Linked DNA regions of Homo sapiens: regions 2 and 3 are each linked to region 1. The links are contacts of gene promoters, found by promoter capture Hi-C in blood cells and fetal thymus (Javierre and others, 2016). All regions are on one chromosome and are shown on one strand. Each heading gives the region's core, a stretch centred on a gene start or on the middle of the fragment in contact. The rest is flanking DNA. Distances are from core to core; before and after follow the strand shown.

Region 1 (4,185 bases), core at 472-2,971:
AAAAAAATGACATAATGTCAATCATCTCACCCCATTGTCATATTTCACCCTCACAGCAGTCCTGTGAAGGGGTCCTAATGACCCTTACAGATCAGGAAAAACTAGCTCATCTTATCCAATGTAGAACCCAGGCAGCAGGGGCAGACAAAGTTTTTGAGGGGCCTAATGTACAATTTGGGGGATCCTCTTTAAGAAACATAATACAAAACCACAAATGAAATTAGGCTCAGGGTCTTAGAACAGGCCTCACAACTAGGGCCTGGTGCTTCACACTGGTTAGCTTCCAGGGGAGGCAGCTGGTGCCCGTCGGGAAAAGTGTTGTGGCTGCCCTTAGCCAGAAGCAGTGGTCACAGGTGGCTCTGAATGAACCGGCACCAACACGAGCACCAGGGAAATCAGGTGCCACTGCTCTTGCTTGGTTGTTAGCTCTGTTTTTGTTGTTTTTAAGAAATAGGATCTCACTCTTTTGTCCAAGCTGGAGTGCAGTGGTGTGATCACAGCTCACTGTAACCTTGAACTCCTAGACTCAAGCAATCCTCCTTCACCCTCCCCAGTAGCTGGGCTGCAGGCACGCACCACCACACCGGTTTTTTTTTGTTGTTGTTGTTTTGTTTTGTTTGGTTTTTTTTTTGTAGAGACAAGGTTTCGCCATGTTGCCCAGGCTAAACTCGAACTCCTGGGCTCAAGCAATCCTCCTGCCTCGGTCTCCCAAAGTGCAGATTACAGGCGTGAGCCACAGCTCTCAAGGGAGCTCCTTAACCTTCCTGCCTCAGTTTCCTCCTTCAGAGTAATGTCAATGAAACTGGAACATTAAGAGTGAGCAGAGTTGATGCTCACATTAAGGGGGGTGTTTTAAAGGATGCCCAGGGGGCTTTGCTTCTCCCAAACATCGGACACTGCCTGGAACTGTCCCTCGGGTTGCGCAGAGCGAGCCCAGCTTCTGAGGCGACAGAGCCCGCACCCAGCAGTGGAACCCGTGAGGACCTTGGAGCCCCCAGAGCCTGACTTGGGTTCAGCTCTGCCAGGAACTAGCTGTGACTTTGGAAAGTAACGATTTCTTCATCTGAGAAACGATGGGGGTGGTTTGAATGTGTTCGTCTCTACGGTCTTGTCCCGAATCTAAGTTGCTCTCTGCGCTTCCAAACGCACCCCGCGAGCTGAGGCTCAGCCATTTCTGTAGGCTGCTCTCAGTGTACTGGGGACGTTCCCGTTATCGGCTGGGATTGAGGGAACGAAGATCTGGGAGTGCTGACCCCTGATGGGCAAGAATACTTTTTATCTTACTGTTTAGGGAGGGCGTGTGGTTGGAAATCAGCTTGTGAGCCTTGGAAGGAGAGGAAAGGGGAACATAAGGAAGGTGGGGGCCCAAAGATCCAGGACAGTCCCTGAAAACGCAGCCTTTAGCTGCCCCGGAGGCAGGGGTGGGAATGCGAAGGCAAAGCCGCTGTTACGGGAGAAAGCCAGTCCGTGCCTGAGTGCCTTAAACGGCGGGCACGAAAGGATGGGACGAACGGCAGGGGCTCCTCTCTGCCCCGGCCCTGGCCGCAGGTCTGGGGGCAGAGGAAGCCCGCGGGCGCTCACCTTGCGGCCGTTCACGTAGAAGAGCAGCTCGGACGCCCGGTCCATTGTGGTGTCCGCGCTGGTTCGAGGGCCCGGAGCGGGAGGCGGAGGTTCTGGGAAGTAGCGGGCACCTGGGACCCGGCGGCACCGACCCGCCGAGTGGGGCGGGGCTTGCTGGAGCCTAAAGTCCAACCCATCCACCCCGACGGAGAAAGCCTTGATTAAGATCCAACGTTCCTGAGCTCTTTGCCAGGAACTCTTCCCGGGACACCAGCACGTGTGTGGGCGTCACTGGCGCCCTCTATGTGGGCGGAAATCATCCGGCGAAGATGAAGACGACCCCTTCATCTCCTCGCCAGTGGCGCTTAGCGTCTGTGTCACACCCTCTTGCGTCTTAGCAAACATTGTAAGTCCTGGGACATTGCTTTTGATGGTCTTATGTTACTGCATATTTTAGGTGGTGTTCCAGCTGGATTTAAGTCTGGGAACATTAGTAACTCCCCTCCAACCAGGCCTGCTGTAGTCCTGGACTCTTAAGTGTAAACAATCATATTTATTCCAACTCTGCAAGAGCGGATCTTAGGGAAAACAAATAGGTTTACAACTTGATCTTTTAGAAATATAAGGTTGGTGCAAAAGTAATTGCGGTTTTTACCATCACTTCCAATGGCAACAACTGCAATTAATTTTGCACCAACCTAATAATTACTGGTTTTAAAATGAAGTGCTATCTTGATATAAACTTAAAAATTTTATCACTATTTACAGTTTATCCAGTAACTAACCACAAAGTTTATCTGGTAAATAAGAACAGAGATGTAAAACATCTTGGAAAACTTAAAAAAAAAAACTTGGAAAATACAGCAAAGCATAAAAATAAAGAACACCTGTAAGCCCACAACTTAGAACTTACCACCGTTCACTTTTTTAGTCTATCCTTACTTTTTGAAACATGTACTTTTAACACCTTTAAAAACTTAAGTGGGACAAACTAGTTATTTTCCAGGCTTTTTTCACTTGCCATACCTTAGAACATTTTCCCATGTTATTTCATTTATGTAAACACAAAAATTTTATTGTGAAATTTTCCAAACTTTGCACATAAAAGTGAAGAGTGCAATTGGCATCTACCTGCCCTTCACTGAGCTTTAACAATGGTCAACGTTTTGGCATACTCCATTTTTTGTAGTATTTAAAAGCCAATCCTGGACATATTTTAGCCCTAAATACTTCAAAAACACACATACACATCCTTTTAGTCAGCCGCAACACCATTTCACGTGTCTAAAAAATGTCTTTTACACTTGACTTCTTTGAATCAAACAAGAGCTGTGCAATGTATTTGCATGTGGTCTCATCAGTCTCTTTTGATCTAAAACAGACTTTTTAACACTATTAACACATTGAAAAAGAAACCAGGTCAGTTGTTCTATTGAAATGAACCATTTTTTGAATGTGGCTAATTGCTTCTCCCTGGTATTGTTTTTCTACTCTACTTATTTCCTATGCACTAAATATTAGATCTAAAGCTTTGATTAAATTCAGGTTCAATTTTTTGGGGGGGAGAGGGCAAGAACACTTCATAGGTGGTACCATATAATTAATATTGCAGCACAGCAGGAAGCATATGGTGTCTGGTTGTTTCATTCGTAATGATGCTAACATTGATCAGTGGGTTCAGAGGGCTATTCCTTTGTAATGAATTTCTCCATCAACATTTCACCTAATTGTTTTACATCCATTGTTGAGCATTGCCTGAGCGGTAGTTTTAATAGGGGTTTGCAATTTTTCTAATTCTAGCATTTCTTCTTCATTCATCAACTGGGATTCTTTGAATAAAACTATCCATCCTTCACTAGAGCTATTGACTAAACCCCTCCAGCACTCTGTACCCCCACTGCAGTCTCTCAAAGTGTGGTACTAGGACAATCCTCGGACGGACTCACCTGAAGCATCTGATTAAGATGCAGATTTCTGGGCCCACCGCGTTAGTGGTCAGATATTGTCTAAAAAAGTTTTCCATCTAGGTGGAATAGAGTTTGAGTAGTCATTTGAATTCAATAAACTGTGTATTGATCTCAGATATGAACAGGATTTATTACTACTTATTACTGGAAGAGTAAGTGATCTTTAAAACCAAATTATAAAAACCAAATTCAAAAGAGCCTGAAAGGTTAATCTCCTCCTCTAAGTCATCAGATTACATATAATAGAAATAATACAGAAGCTGACATTCAACATGTATTTCTGAAAACAGAAGAATGAAGGGAGAGAAAACGGGCCAGGGCAGGAGGTGGCTTTTAAACCCTTTTGGATGTCCACATATATTGAATGGGTTAAAAACAGACAGCAAAACAAGACAGCCTAGTATACAAGATAACCAATGCAAAGGTATTTATTAACACATTTTATTTGGTTAAAAGGTTATTGTTTGGTTAAAGGCTACTAGGTAAAAAGAAGCTTAAATAAACAGGAAGGTAAGTTATATGATGACCAAAATGACTCAAAAAGTTTAATGTTACAAAATAGCTATTTTATGCACATATACCTATTAATAAACATTAAGAATGGACAAATCAACACTCCATGAAAGGCCAAAGAAACAAAAAAAAAACCTTTTCATTA
Region 2 (4,185 bases), core at 460-2,959, 590 kb after region 1:
GAGATATCAAAGATACCAGCTTATGAGAAGGAACACTGGCGACTCTGATTACTGACTTATTTTATACATCCAACATTTGCACATAAAGTTTCCAATCTTGCTAAGTTATCAGTTTCTGAAACTGCCTGAGAAAAAGGTAACTGCATGGTCTACTACACCTACCTGACATTTTTAGGCAGTTTTTCTCACTTTAATTTTACCTTTGGCTTATGAAATCTTATATAATGGATCAGTTGTGCTCCATAAAAGCCTTGGAATTTTATCAAATTGCATGTTGTTAGTTGACCCCTGTGCATCTCTCTCCATTATCCTGGCCCACTGCAAGGAACGTGCGATTAAATGTCATTAACCAACCAGAACTAAAGAAGCTTCATAAATAGACATGCTAACCTTTGACCAAACGCAGTTCATAAACTCTTTCAGGAAAGAAATGCTGGAGATTTCTTATAGCATTTCTGTTTCTGAGTTAAATTGGGACTATGTGGAGTGGAAAGGGTACTAAACTCGGAGTTAAAAGGCCTAGCTTCTTGTTTAGATCCTTCCTTCTCTTTACTGGGAGATCTTGGAGTTATTTAACCTCACTAAGCCTTGGTTTTCTCATCTGCTAATGGAAATGATGAAGCCTTCCCTTCCCACCCTCACAGGGTAGATGTGATGAATACATAAAGTAAATCCTTTGTTTGCACATGTCAGCATCAGGTGCTGACTGGCCCACAGAGACCTTGCTTTTGAATATTTTTAATGATACTATTTCACCTATACACAGTACTGTAGGAGGAAAGTCATAGTGGCAGTGCTTACTGGAGAGAAGAGAACCCAGTCTGAAATGCTGTCAATGCAAAGCCCTCCAGTCCTTGGTGCTGACTGTTAAGAAGAGGCCTGGACCCTCCTGCTGTCTGGCCTCTGACCATGCTGTGGAAGGCCTTTCTGGCATGCGTGGCATTGACTCATTAGATCAGGACTGAAATCTCCATTGCTATGTCTGCAAGATGCACCTCTGCCAGAACGATCCCTGTGTTTCTTGCATACACACCCCTAATATTTGTGGGAGCCGGAGGACAAATGAAAATCCATATGCCTGATATCTAAATATTTAAAAGGATCAAGGAATCTAACAGAGCACTTAAATAAAATATATTATATCCTCATATCTTGACAAATACACTTCACACTGACCTTGAAGGCTAGTTTTGAATTTAGAACTCCTCAGACTTCTCAGAGTCCCTTTCCAGGATATAGTGGGCCTTTCTTTTCCATCCCGCAGTATGAGGGCCTCAAGATCTCACGTGTGGACACCCCTGTCTCCATGTCCAAGCTCCATCCACACTCCTCACAAGTGTCTGTTGTTTTGGCCACCGATCAGATTGAGGAGTACATTGGGGGAGCCTGTCCACACTCAGAAGGACAGACCTGTGCAGAGGCTCATGCAAGCCCTGAAAATTGGCTCAGGACATTTGGGCAGAGACTTCCGGGGTCTTGGCTACTGAGGCATGGTCTGGAAGGGGAGGCGTCCAGTGGCCAGGTTCCCTTGGTCCTGCAGATTCCTCAGCTATTACTGGAAACCCTGAGGCCTCTAGTTTTCAGGTCCACTACTCCTCTCTGTCCAACTTCAAAAGCAAGCCATGACCCGAGAAGAGAATGGGCTGGCAACCAAGGGTGACATTAAAAGATATTTTTAACCAGCATGGCATGAGTACCATCCAATCATCTAACCATTACACCAGCAAAAATAGACACGGATGATGAGAAATTGCTATGGCCATAGTTCTACTTAGAACTGGCATTGCTCTATATCTGACATTTATCCTTGGCCTTCTTCCCTCTCCCTGCTACCTTGGCAAGGCCCACACAACTGATATTCTGCTTCAGTTGATTTCCTGGGCTGGAACCCTTTCCTGATCCTTAGTGTCTTTGACTGGGGCAGGCTCTGATACTCTTCCAAGTTCTTCCCGTCTCCTTTCCCCAGGATGCTAAATCAAGAAGATGATCTTGATGCATAGTGTCATTACCTGCCTATGATAAAACTGCTGCCTGGATCCCACCGCTACCACCTACCCACTAGCAGGGGGACCATGGAATGCTGCGGTTATTCCTCCCCTTGACCCTGTGAGCATTGGACAGCTGTTGAGACATACAGATTGAGTTTGACAAGATGCAAACACAGAACAATAGGGAACAAGGGTGTGGCTTAAGCAGGATCCTGTACTTCTGGTATCTGCCCTATTTCCAGCCTTGCTGATTCCTGGCTTCAGGTTCTGTGACCAGAGGCTCTTCTTCATCCCATGCCTCCAGCCTGGAATTTCTGCATCTGGCATCTCCTGCTCCACTCTCTTTCCACCCTAGTTGTCTCACCTGGTTTGCTCTTTCCACTCTTCACTTCTAGCAGAAGCTCTTTCCTGACTTCCTTTTGGCCTGTGCTCCAGCACTGTCTCTCTCTGAGTACCCGGCTAGTCGTCTCCCATCCCAAGCTCAGCTGGCATTCCTGATACCCTCCATGGGGCAAACAGGCCCTGTTGTCCCAGGAAGTGTCACATAGACACCTTGGCCCTCGGTAGAAGTACAAACAGAGGCCCACATACCATATGTCTAAATATTTTAAAGTTATACATTAAGCCAACCAACTGTTAAATAAAACATGTCCTACTCTCCTACTTTGACAAATATACCTTCACAGTGTCCTGGAGGTCCAGATGGAAATTTTAATTTCTGGGACTCCTCAGAGTTTTATGCCAGAACATAGAGACAGTGAGAACCAGCCCCCAGTCTTTGGCCCCACCCTGCTGCACAACTTCCTTTTCTTTCTGACCTGAATTTGCCCAACATGGTGAGGGGCCTTGCAAGGACAAGTATGCACTTCCCAGCCTTCACAGCCAAACTCCACCCACATTCCCTGAAGAGAGCTGCTCCTGGCCCACCCTGTCCTCAGAGTGACCAGCCCTAGAAGTGGGCCTGAGGCTATCAGGACAGGGAATTCTGGGGTCTTGGGTACCTGGAATATGGTCTCAAAAGGAGGATGTGGGCTTTGGGGTGGGGATGCTCCCTCAAGCTTCAGGCCTATGGCAGGAGCTCCTCTTTCCCTGGCCTAAGGGCTGTTCTGAGAGAGAGAATGAAGAAATTTGGGTTTAGATAAGTCAAGTTGGAGGAGCTGGTGAGAAACCTGTGTGGAGATGTCCTGCAGGCCTTTGGAAATGTCCATGTAAAGTTTGACCAAAGAACTACGCACAGTAGAAACCTGAACATCACTGAGCTGGAGAAATGGGATTGCGTGGGCTTTCCCACACCAGCTGATGATGGTATAGAGTTGTTTAAAGGCAGCACAGCTTCTCAGTGCCCGAAATCACTGCTCCTCACAATGCAAAGGTTGTTGCCTCTCCCTGTCTTGGTAAGGATGTTTTAGTGAGACGTGGCTTTCCAGGGGTCATTAGGGACATGTGGAGGTGCCTAAGGTAGAGGTTGTATATAAGATAGATTAGAGTTGACAGTGAGTGCCAAAAGATATAAATGGCTTATAGTGGCAGTTCAGGCTGCAATCATGATGCTACAATCTCTAAGGATCCAGGCTCCCTGTATCTGAATAGTATTTTCCATCTATTCTGAATAATAATTTCCACCTCACTGTTCAAGGTAGTTGCTGAAGCTCCAGTCATCACTTCCACATTCCAGCCAGTGGGAAAGAAGAGCGAAATATACACCTCTCCCTTGTTAAAAGAAAAACTTCAGCCAAATTAAATTTAAAAGAATTTAATTGAGCAAAGAACAGTTCCTGAATTGGGCAGACTCCTGAGCCAGAGTAGGCTCAGAGACTCCAGTGCAGTGCAGCCACATGGTGGAGAAGATTTATAGACAGAAAAAGGAAAGTGATTTACAGAAAATAGAAGTACAGAAACAGCCAGATTGGTTACAGCTCAGAGTTTGCCTTATTTGAACATGGTTTGAACAGCTGACCACCTTTGATTGGCCAAAACTTGGTGATTGGCACAAGAGTAGGTTACATTCTGTTTACAACTTCATTTAGAGTACAGTTCACGATGTACAGAGAAACTTTTAGGCTGAACTTAAAATATGTAAGGAGGCACCCTTAGGCTAACCTTGATTTAATACCTCTTAAGGCCATTTCTCAGAAATTTTACATGGCAGTTCTATTTTCATCTCATTGTCTAGAACTTAGATACATGACCACACCCA
Region 3 (4,185 bases), core at 918-3,417, 570 kb after region 1:
TTTAAATATATTTATTAAAAACCTAACAATAACTACTGGAACAGTAAAAATAAGATTTGTAACTTTCAAATACCAGGTGAAAAAAGAAAACCTTATCATCAAAAGAGAAGAACAGCTACCCAAAACAACACAAAATAGAAAACAAGCAAAACCAAACCAAGACAAAAAAGCCTTACAAAGAGAAAACACAAAATGAGAAAGCAAAAATAAGATTGATTGATATAACAAATACAGCACTTTCAAGTCCTAGGGACTGTTCAGAGCGCTTTACAAATATTAGCTGATTTAATCAAACATACAATTACCTCAATAAATGTGAATAGGTTAAATTCCTCAATTAAGAAAACCAGATTCTGATGTCTTAAGTTGTGTTAAAACAAGACAAGAGAGAAAGCAAGAGAAATAATGTCTTTAAACAAAATGACTAAAGTTTGTTAAAACAAAAAGCCAGGAAAATTACACCAAAATAAAACAAAGTAGCAGGGATGGCAGTATTACTATTGAACAAACTAAAATTCAAATCAAACAGGATTAAATGGAATTTTTAAAAATTACATGTATGTAAATATATGTCACTATATGTCATTATATTTCATATTTTTAAAATATAAAAATTTAAATATAATATTTTAATTTTTAAAATACAAAATATAATAATAAATCTGTAAATTTGTAAAAAGCTTTAAGAGCACTAACCTATGAGCCTTAGGATAATATCAAACATGTTTATTCAAAACTATTAGAAATGTCAGGATTTGAATTGATTCATGGAGTTGCAAAGGGAAGGAGACATTTTTGGCAAAAAGAAATTACCCTACCTGGTCAGCGAAGCCACTAGTGAGGCCACTTTGACTAACACTGAGGGTCTGTGGAGGAGGCTAAGGAAGAAATAAGATTAGAAAGGTGGAGCAGGTCTAGCTTTTACTTCCAGGAAAGGTGATGAGGATCAAGGGAGAGATGTGATTACAGGTGTCCTTTAGAAAGGTAAATCAGGGCTGGGCACAGTGGCTCACGCCTGTAATCCCAGCACTTTGGGAGGCTGAGGCGGGTGGATCACGAGGTCAGGAGTTCAAGACCAGTCTAACCAAGATGGTGAAACCCGGTCTCTACTAAAAATACAAAAATTAGCCTGGCGGCGGGGTGGGTGCCTGCAATCCCAGCTACTAGGAAGGCTGAGGCAGAGAATTGCTTGGACCCTGGAGGCAGAAGTTGCAGTGAGCTGAGATCATGCCACTGCACTCCAGCCTGGGCAACAAAGTGAGACTTCATCTCAAAGTGAGACGTGAGACTCACTTCACAAAGTGAGACTTCATCTCAAAAAAAAAAAAAAAAAAAAAGAAAAGAAAAGAAAGATAAATCAGGCAGCAGCATGCAAAACTGGCTGGAGAAGAAATGGAGTATTGGCAACACAGGCAGAAGTGCATATTCACTATTAGTAAATCAGTAGTACATTTCCACATTACCCTTATGCTCTTAGTCTATCAGAAAGAAGTATTTGGAAGTTGAGTTCAATAATATGAAAGTCTTCTGAAAATTGAGGTGCTTTAAATATGTAATATTAATATTAATTATTCTCATTCATTCTATAGTATTATATTTAAATACTTAAAGTCTCTAAATCATGATCATAAATTGGTATCTACAATCCTTATCCTGTAGGTAATTGAAAGCTTTGAAGAACTTGATCAAAGTGAATTCTTTCACCAAAGATCTAAGAATAGCCAGAAGATGTTCAATTACAGAGGCAGTCCAGGCATATCTGCTTTTCCTCCCCTTTCTCTCTTTGCACTGTATCCCCCTCTACCCTATACGGAGAGTTTGGATATGGAAATTTTGGAAGGGTCCTATTAGCTACAAGGACATAGCCTCCTATGGGAGAATCTGTCTTTTTCAGATATGAAATCAGTTTTATAATTTTAAGGAAATTTTTGATACCTACATTTTTAAGGAAATGTCATTCTTGACTCTGCTTAGGCTATGCACAGGAGCAGGCCGGCGGAGAACAGATTTTCCTCGTTTTAGGAACTGTTGTTAGTAATGCACTCTCCCAATCACCTGCATCAATGAAGGGGAGCCAAAATGGAAATAATCCCAATGGTAGATCATCCAAAAACATATGGCTGTTTAGTTTGGAAGTACATTCAATTACTTTTTCTTGCAGCTAGGTCTTTCTAAATCTGTATTCCCTGGTTATTGCTAAAGTAATTTGCTATCCCTGACCACACACTAATTCATAATGGGAAGAATGGCCCAGGTGGGCTGGTTGGCAATGGTGCATCAGCCTGAGATTAACCATTTGCCACAGATAATTACAAATGAGTAATTCAGAGCCAGATAACTGAGAATTCTTATATACTATATGTTTTGTCTCAGGAGGCCAACTGTAAAATTCCTGTGATTTCTATGATTCTATGTGCATGTGTGTGTGTGTGTAAGAGAGAGAGAGAAATTAAGAAGAATTTATGATAATTTTATGGTAATCCTTTAGCACTAAAAGAGAATTAATAAGGCCTTGCTTTTAGGAATTGAAGTAACATCTTTAGCTGCTTTCTAACTTTGAAAATGTGAGGATTTTGATTTTTTTAAAAAAAAATCAACCATAATCTTTAAGTAAATGACTTTAATGTCACATACCAGAAAGGGAACATATAAAGATGAAGCTTATCATTTCTCAACTAGTTTCATCAAGAATTATAATTTTCAATGGGTAAACTTTGAGAGAAATTATACTATTAATCGTTAAACTCAAGAGTTTTATCAAAGCCTCAAACATTATCACTGGCAACAAAAGACTGAATATAAACATAGTTAATTATTTCTCTGGCTTTACCAAATACCATTGTGAGGTACTGAAGATACCTATTAAGATAGACATAATTATTATTGAAGGATATGATTTATTTATATATTTTCCATAATACCTATAAAATAAATAAGTTAGAGGAAATCATAATCAAAATGTGTATTAAAATAACATTGTCAATAGCTATTGATATTTGGCAATAGCAGTCAATAAATTAAATAATTACAAGCTTGTCAAAATTTTGTATTGGAGATGATTGTCCTTTACCCAACTATCATTTCCTTGATGCCCATACCCCTTCTTAGAGAGCATACCTGGCACTGCCTGGAAAGAGCACTAGAACACTGTGTCCTTGCCTATCTGAGAGTGTGAGCCCATCACACTGAAGCTGAGCCCATCACATTCTCTCTCCTGGTTTTGGATGTGCAGACTAGAAACACCATTTGTAATCAGAGGTGGGTGCTGCTCTTTTAGGAGCACTGGTAATGGGAATTTTTCCAAAGACAAAAGAATGAAACAGGTGCAGCAGAGACAAGGAACCAGGGGCCAGAGGGACAGGAAGAAGAGGAAAGTGAGAGTAAAAGAATTTTACTGATAACCTTCTGGTTCTATAAAATTTTTTAGTTCTTGCTAAAACTGGACACCTTGAGATGCTGTATCCTTACAATAAACTTCTCTGTAATTAGCCGAGCTTAAGTGGATTTCTTCTGGCAACTATGCATATGAAACTGCTCAACCACTATGTTAATTTTCAAGTCTTCTAAAGATGGTAACAACTTAAATTTCCCTGCCAGAATTTTGGAGAGAGGCAAGCAAATCTGACATCAGAAATGTAGTTGTCTCACTTTTGGTTTAAATCCTGAATCAGTTTAGGGAAGCAGTGGGTGAAGATTATTTTTAAACAGCCCACAGTCAACTTATCCTACTCAAAAGTATGACCAAAACACTGAGGAGGCAGAAGAGATAAAGAATTTTTATTTTCTGATAAGTAGTGGTTATTTTGACATAAAATAATTATTATATGAAAGTCCTTTGAACCACTGTGACTTGGATTGACAATTAGAGAAAGAGAGAGAGTGAGAGTGAGAATAGAGTGAGTGTACATGTGGCCTACTGCATGAAAGGTAAATCAGCAGATTCTTGAATCAACCATCTATTCTATTTCTATAATTATGTATTGGTTTAAAAAAGACTCCTTCTTAGTAAAGGCAAGTGTTGACTAAGTTATGTGTGTCACAGTAAAAGCCATACACCTTCTTTTTGGCCTGTTAAAACAAGGTTTAAGGAAAATGAGGAATAGTTCAAGCCAAGAACATCTGAGCAAATAATCAAATAAGAAAAACAATTAAAAGTTTGGGATGATATTAACAAACTGACAAAAA

The links. Contacts are between HindIII fragments. The CHiCAGO score rates a contact against its expected background, and 5 or more counts as called.
Region 2: a contact is called between a fragment that was not itself captured here and the fragment with the promoter of AOX1 in region 1, in 2 of 17 cell types (megakaryocytes and endothelial precursors). The highest score is 8.0, in megakaryocytes.
Region 3: a contact is called between a fragment that was not itself captured here and the fragment with the promoter of AOX1 in region 1, in 1 of 17 cell types (endothelial precursors). The highest score is 5.3, in endothelial precursors.

Annotation. Positions count from the first base shown.
Region 1 is chr2:200,583,550-200,587,734 of GRCh38, reverse strand. It overlaps AOX1 (aldehyde oxidase 1), which reads right to left and starts at 1,721. Exons shown (of 35, transcript NM_001159.4): 1 at 1,582-1,721. The coding sequence starts at 1,626. It overlaps SGO2 (shugoshin 2), which reads right to left. Exons shown (of 9, transcript NM_152524.6): 9 at 3,639-4,185. The HindIII fragment of the contact is 4,080 bases long and covers 1-3,091 here.
Region 2 is chr2:199,995,072-199,999,256 of GRCh38, reverse strand. All of the region lies in intron 2 of LOC124906112 (a long non-coding RNA gene), which reads left to right. Among named protein-coding and RNA genes, the nearest start is that of MAIP1, 42 kb to the right of the region's middle. The HindIII fragment of the contact is 2,678 bases long and covers 371-3,048 here.
Region 3 is chr2:200,011,998-200,016,182 of GRCh38, reverse strand. The region is part of intron 1 of LOC124906112 (a long non-coding RNA gene); the gene reads left to right. It overlaps LOC124907962 (a long non-coding RNA gene), which reads right to left. Exons shown (of 2, transcript XR_007088035.1): 2 at 3,758-4,185. Among named protein-coding and RNA genes, the nearest start is that of MAIP1, 59 kb to the right of the region's middle. The HindIII fragment of the contact is 990 bases long and covers 1,673-2,662 here.